2 separate regions of the Homo sapiens genome follow, and region 1 is linked to region 2. The links are contacts of gene promoters, found by promoter capture Hi-C in blood cells and fetal thymus (Javierre and others, 2016). All regions are on one chromosome and are shown on one strand. Each heading gives the region's core, a stretch centred on a gene start or on the middle of the fragment in contact. The rest is flanking DNA. Distances are from core to core; before and after follow the strand shown. Region 1 overlaps MECP2 (methyl-CpG binding protein 2). Region 2 holds the start of PLXNA3 (plexin A3).

Evidence for each region. Contacts are between HindIII fragments. The CHiCAGO score rates a contact against its expected background, and 5 or more counts as called.
Region 1: a contact is called between a fragment that was not itself captured here and the fragment with the promoter of PLXNA3 in region 2, in 1 of 17 cell types (non-activated CD4 T cells). The highest score is 5.2, in non-activated CD4 T cells.

What each region holds. Positions count from the first base shown.
Region 1 is chrX:154,039,310-154,042,009 of GRCh38, reverse strand. All of the region lies in intron 1 of MECP2 (methyl-CpG binding protein 2), which reads left to right. Among named protein-coding and RNA genes, the nearest start is that of MIR718, 21 kb to the right of the region's middle. RefSeq lists an enhancer at 462-962. The HindIII fragment of the contact is 464 bases long and covers 1,194-1,657 here.
Region 2 is chrX:154,456,934-154,459,633 of GRCh38, reverse strand. It overlaps PLXNA3 (plexin A3), which reads right to left and starts at 1,353. Exons shown (of 33, transcript NM_017514.5): 1 at 1,206-1,353. RefSeq lists enhancers at 1-450, 1,876-1,945 and silencers at 936-1,005, 1,246-1,485, 1,616-1,785. The HindIII fragment of the contact is 19,869 bases long and covers 1-2,700 here.

The sequences.
Region 1 (2,700 bases), core at 176-2,675, 420 kb after region 2:
CTAATACTGGAAGTAGAAAGAATTGGAAACACCATCTGGATGACACTTTAGGGTGGAAGCAGCCAGTACAAGGGGGGGCTCATTATTTCCTCTGGTCCCAGACTGTTCACCTGGAGCTGTAGCCACCACCCTGCCCTTAGGTTAACTGCCTCGAGTGGTAGTTTAGCTCTTTGTGCTGTGCCGAGGGATAACTGGAAGTGAAAGGTGCTGAGAAATGCCATCTCCTGAAAGTGGCGAGCATGAGTGAATTTACGAAAGGTTGGGATATTGCTGGGGCTCTGGAAGTTTCTCTGGAGCTCACTCCAGGGGACAGGGAGGGGGCTGGATTCCAATTCAAGTGAAAAATACCTTTCATCTGCCTTGTTCACCTGGCTTTTTTGCCTTTTTGTAAAATCTGAAAACCTCAGGGATTGAGTAGTCTTTCCTTAACTGCAGTTGCCTGTCTGGCCACACCTGCCAGCTGTTGCTTGTACCCCTGTAATTTGCACGGCCTTCCGGGCCTTTCTCACAAGATCACTGCAGGTCACATTCATGAGGAAAATGCAGGCAGTTCCTGCCATCAGACCCCTCAGGATGTCATGGTTTGGCCTGAAAACAAGATTCCTGCAACTCTAATTTTCCTTTGCTAGATCAAATGAAGGATTTGATCTAATGTTTGCATTCTAGCAGCAAAATCATTGAATATTTTATTTCTTAAGAGCCTTACTTCATATTTTGTAGGTATTTTAAGATTTTGTAAAGGCCTTTCTGCTTCAACGTGTGATGTGTGCATTCTTAGAAAAAGATCTTGTGTTCTGTAAATCACACAATAAAAACATGAGTTCGTGCAGGAAAAACTGGGGCGGGGTGGATCACTCCAAACTTGTGTGGTGTGGTAACTGGAGCTCACTGATGAAACCATGAACAGTTCTGGCTGAAAGAACCCCACAGTACACTGAGGTCTGTTGGCATCGCCGCCAGCACCGCCCCGGTCCCTTTGTGCGCGCCACCACACCTGGCTAATTTTTTATTTTTAGTAGAGAGGGGGTTTCACCATGTTGGTCAGGATGGCCTCGAACTGACCTCGTGATCCGCCCACCTCAGCCTCCCAAAGTGCTGGGATTACAGGTGTGAGCCTCCGTGCCCAGCCTTCAGCTTTTTTTCTTAATGTCTTTGTGTAATATGAAGGCATTCTCTTTAATTGTTAAAAAGCTTGCCTACCACTGCTTCAAAATATTACTGTCAGTTGGCATAGCTTCTGATTATATTGATGTCATCTCCCTTCTTTTAAACATGTTACCATATTGGCACTGTATTTCCCCTAGCCCATTGATCACTTGAGAGTTAGTCATAGTCCTCGTGCTGTTTCACTCCTAAACGTTTAAGCATGCCTTTCCTAAGAGCAGACAGTACAGTTAAGACACTCAGGAAGTTTAGCAATGAGCTAACACAGAACCTTACATTTCTCCACATACCCCATAAATGCCTTTTTTAGAGCCTTTGAGCCTGGAATGCAGAGTCCAGGACTGTGTGTTGTATTCGATTGTGTCATCCCTTCAGTCTCCTTTATCAGAAATGTTCCCCCACCCCCTTGTTTTCTCTCATCATCTTGAGTCCAGACCGTGGTTGCATGGCACGCCCTCTCTGGACTCTTCCTGCTGTCTCCTCACGGTAAGCTTCAGTCTCCTACTCGTGATGCTGGTTCATCTCAGCAGCACTGAGGGGCCTGAGCTCAGTTTGGTCGTGTGTTAAGGTGGTGCCTGCCAGATTTCTCCACAGAAAAGGGCCCCGTACTTTTATTTGCTCTTCAGCCTGTGTATTCCTTCCTTTCTTGCCAGCTTGTGGGTGGCTTCTCTAGCAGCTTCTGTAAGATACTCAGTTTGGCAGTTGTAGTTGTTTCAGCAGGAGAGGTGTCTGCATACCTGACCACCACATGGCTAGAAGTCGATCCATCCTCTGGCGTAACCATCCTCCATGCTACTGTCCCTGGGGCACTGAGGCCCTCCTCAGTGACTTCCTCCACCTCATCTTCCGCCATCTCCAAGCCACCAGTGTCCAACGGACTACTGATATGTCCCAAACTCATCATTTGTTTATTCACCAATTCAGAGCCCACCTTTTTTTCAGCACTGAGCTAGCCTCTCCTTGCTAGAAGCTTACGGTCGAAGGTCTCCAGCCATCAGAAGAAGCACGTGGAGCGCTGCGTCCGTGTTGTGGTTATTCATCCAGCATGTGTTGAGTAAGGGTTGCACCTGTGCCTGGCATTATGCATTGAGCGGGGAGATGGGGGTTGGCACGCACAGTGGGGTGTTCTAAGTACACTGAGGGCTCGGGTGCCCTGGCTCATAGAGCAGGGAGGGAGGCAGGAGCAGGGAAGGTGTCTCAGAAGTGCCATCTTTTTTTTTTTTTTTTTGGGAAGTGGAATCTTGTTCTATCGCCTGGTCTGGAGTGCAATGGCACTATCTCAACTCACTGCAGCCTCCGCCTCCCAGGTTCAAGCGATTCTCATGCCTCAGTCCCCGAGTAGCTGGGACCACAGGCGCACACCACCACACCCGGCAAATATTTTGTATTTTTAGTAGAGGCGGAGTTTTGCCATGTTGGCCAGGCTGGTCTTAAACTCCTGGCCTCAAGTGATCTGCTCACCTCGGCCTCCTAAGGTGTTGGGATTACAGGCATGAGCCACTGCGCCCGGTCTAGAAGTGCCATCCTAACTGAACC
Region 2 (2,700 bases), core at 104-2,603:
CCTCCCCGACAAGGGCCTCAGCTGGCCATCCAGGAGCCCGCTGTCTGGCCTCCCCGATGCAACACAAAGCCAAGTCGCGCCTGCCCCTCAGCCACGCACCCAGACACACATCAGTCAAGCTCTGCTCAGCCACAGCCTGCATGGCTCCCCCTCCAGACCCAGGGGTTCACTGGAGAAGGGAATGTACAGGGGGCCCTACCTGCCCTTTGGAGTCCCAGGAGCCTTACAAGAGGAGGAGCAATGTCCCCAAATACAGTCAAGGCCTTGGAGAGACAGGGCAGGAGCCACAGGGACAGTGCTGGGACTGGCACTTAGTCCCCAGGCCACACCCAGTCAGCCCCAGGCTGCTAAGACAGCAGAGCAGTGTCGTGGCAGCCAACAGGGCAGGGCTCAGCGCTACCCTCTCAGTGCCAGAGCTCCCGGGGGAGATAGGAGGTACCCAGCTTGAGGGCGGGAGGCGGGGGGGGAGCGGGGGGTGGTGCAGGGAACCAAACCAAGGAGGCACAGGAGAGAGAAAGGAAAAATAAGGCATTTGCCAGGAACAAGCAGCGGGCCCAGCTTGAAACTGCAAAGTTTCAGCTCAGATTGATCACCTCTCCAGGGCTCTTTTGTCAGCTGGACCCCTCATGCAACAGCCGGAGAAGAAAGGAAGGCCAAAGAAAAGAGAGGCCACATCCTGTCTTCACCTCCTCTACACCCCGGGAACACAAGCCTAGGAACAGGCTGGGGACAGGTCGGGAGGGAGACCTGGGGAGGCAGTTTCAGGCCCAGCCCCCACCTGTAAGTGGCAACCTCGGGCATCACAGGTACAGCTGGGCCAGCAGAGAGCCTGAGGAAGGGGCAGCCCCACGCAGAGACGGGGGTCCAGCGGCCGCCCCCCACACCCCCCACCGTGCTGCTGGTCCGGTTTGCCCGGGCCCCATCAGGGCACCCCTCGGCGGACTCGCGGAGCCCTTAGCGGGAGGGAAGTACAGCGTTGATCCTCCGAGGGGCCGCTCCCCTGCGACAAAGGGTCCTCTTTGGGCAGGGTGTTGGTCTTGGGTTGGCGTCCCCACCATGCGGGGCACAAGGAGTCGGGCAGGCCGGCGCCGACGGGCAGGGATAGGGCCTGACCCCCACAGGCCGAGCCGGACCCCCGGGCTGCCGGAGCCCCGGGCCCCGAGCTGTTTGGCCCCGCACGGACGGCGACGATGACGGCCACCTACCTGTCCCTCCGCTGGCTCCGGGTGGCCGCCCTCTGGCCACGTGGACGCGCCCCCGAGCCCCACCGCGGCCCCGCTCGCACGTCCCCACGGCCTCGCCCCGCGCCCCGGGCCCCAAGCGCGCAGCCGCCGCCGCCGCCGCCCACACACTGGGCTGGCCCGGGGGCCGCCGGAGCCTTTTAAACCCGGACCGTACCACCGCGCGGGGCGGGGGCGTCCGGGGACGCCCGGCCGAGGGGGACGCGGCGGCAGGGGACGCAGGCGGGGCCGCTGCTCCCCGGGGCCAGGGACCTCGCGCGCAGCCCTGACCCCCGCGACCTGAAGGGGGACCCGCCCGGCCAGCCGACCCCCTTCGCTCGATGGCCGCGTCCGCGGCGCGCGCCTCCCCCGCGCCCCGGCTCCCCGCCCGCCGCCTCGGGCGACCCCGGAACCCGCGCGCGCCCGCGCCACACCCCCTCGGGCCTGGGGCGCGCGTCCGCCTCGCCCCACCCTGGCGCTCGGAGACGCGCCCGGGGTCACCTGCCACCGGGGCGCGGCCTCGCTGGTCCCGGCCTCTCAGGTGCACCCCCGCCGAGGAGTCGCGTCCCCAGCTCAAGACACGCCCCCGACGGTCTCTAACCCGGAGGGCCTGCGGGACAGCCGTCCAAACCAGCCCCTTCCCCGGCGACCCTGAACCGAGGGCTTTCTTCCTTCCCTTGCTTTCTTTTTCCTTTTCTTTTTTTGTTTTCTTTTGACACAGGGTCTCGCTCTGTCACCCGGGCTGGAGTGCAGTGGTGAGATCATAGCTCACTGCAGCCTCGACCGCCCCAGGCTCAAACGATGCTCCCGCCTCAGCCTCCCAAAGTGCTGGGACTACAGGTGTGAGCCACCGCGCCCCGTTAAGGTTTTCTTTTTCATTTCCCTGATGACTAATGGTGTTCAGCATCTTTTCATGTGCTTGCTGGCCTTTTGTATATGATCTCTGAAGAAATGTCTATTCAAGTCATTTGCCCATTTTTATTAAACACATATATGGAGAGATAGATAGATAGACAGATTTTTCCCCCCAAGTTGAGGTCGCGCTCTATCACCCAGGCTGCAGTGTAGCGGCATTGGATCATGGCTCACTGCAGCCTCGACTTCCTGGGCTCAAGGGATCCTCCTGCCTCAGCCTCCCAGGTAGCTGGGACCACAGGCAAGTGCCACCACGCCTGGCTAACTTTTCCTATTCTTGTAGAGAGAGACAGGGTCTTGCTACACTGCCCAGGCTAGTCTTGAACTCCTGGGCTTAAGTAATCCTCCTGCCTCAGCCTTCCAAAGTACTGGCATATGCTGGGTGCAGTGACTCAAGCCTGTAATCCCAGCATTTTGGAAGGCTGAAGTGAGCGGATCACCTGAGGTCAGGAGTTCGAGACCAGCCTGGCCAACATGGCAAAACCCCATCTCTACAAAAAATACAAAAATTAGCCGGACATGGTGTCATATGCCTGTAGTCCCAGCTACTCAGGAGGCTGAAGCA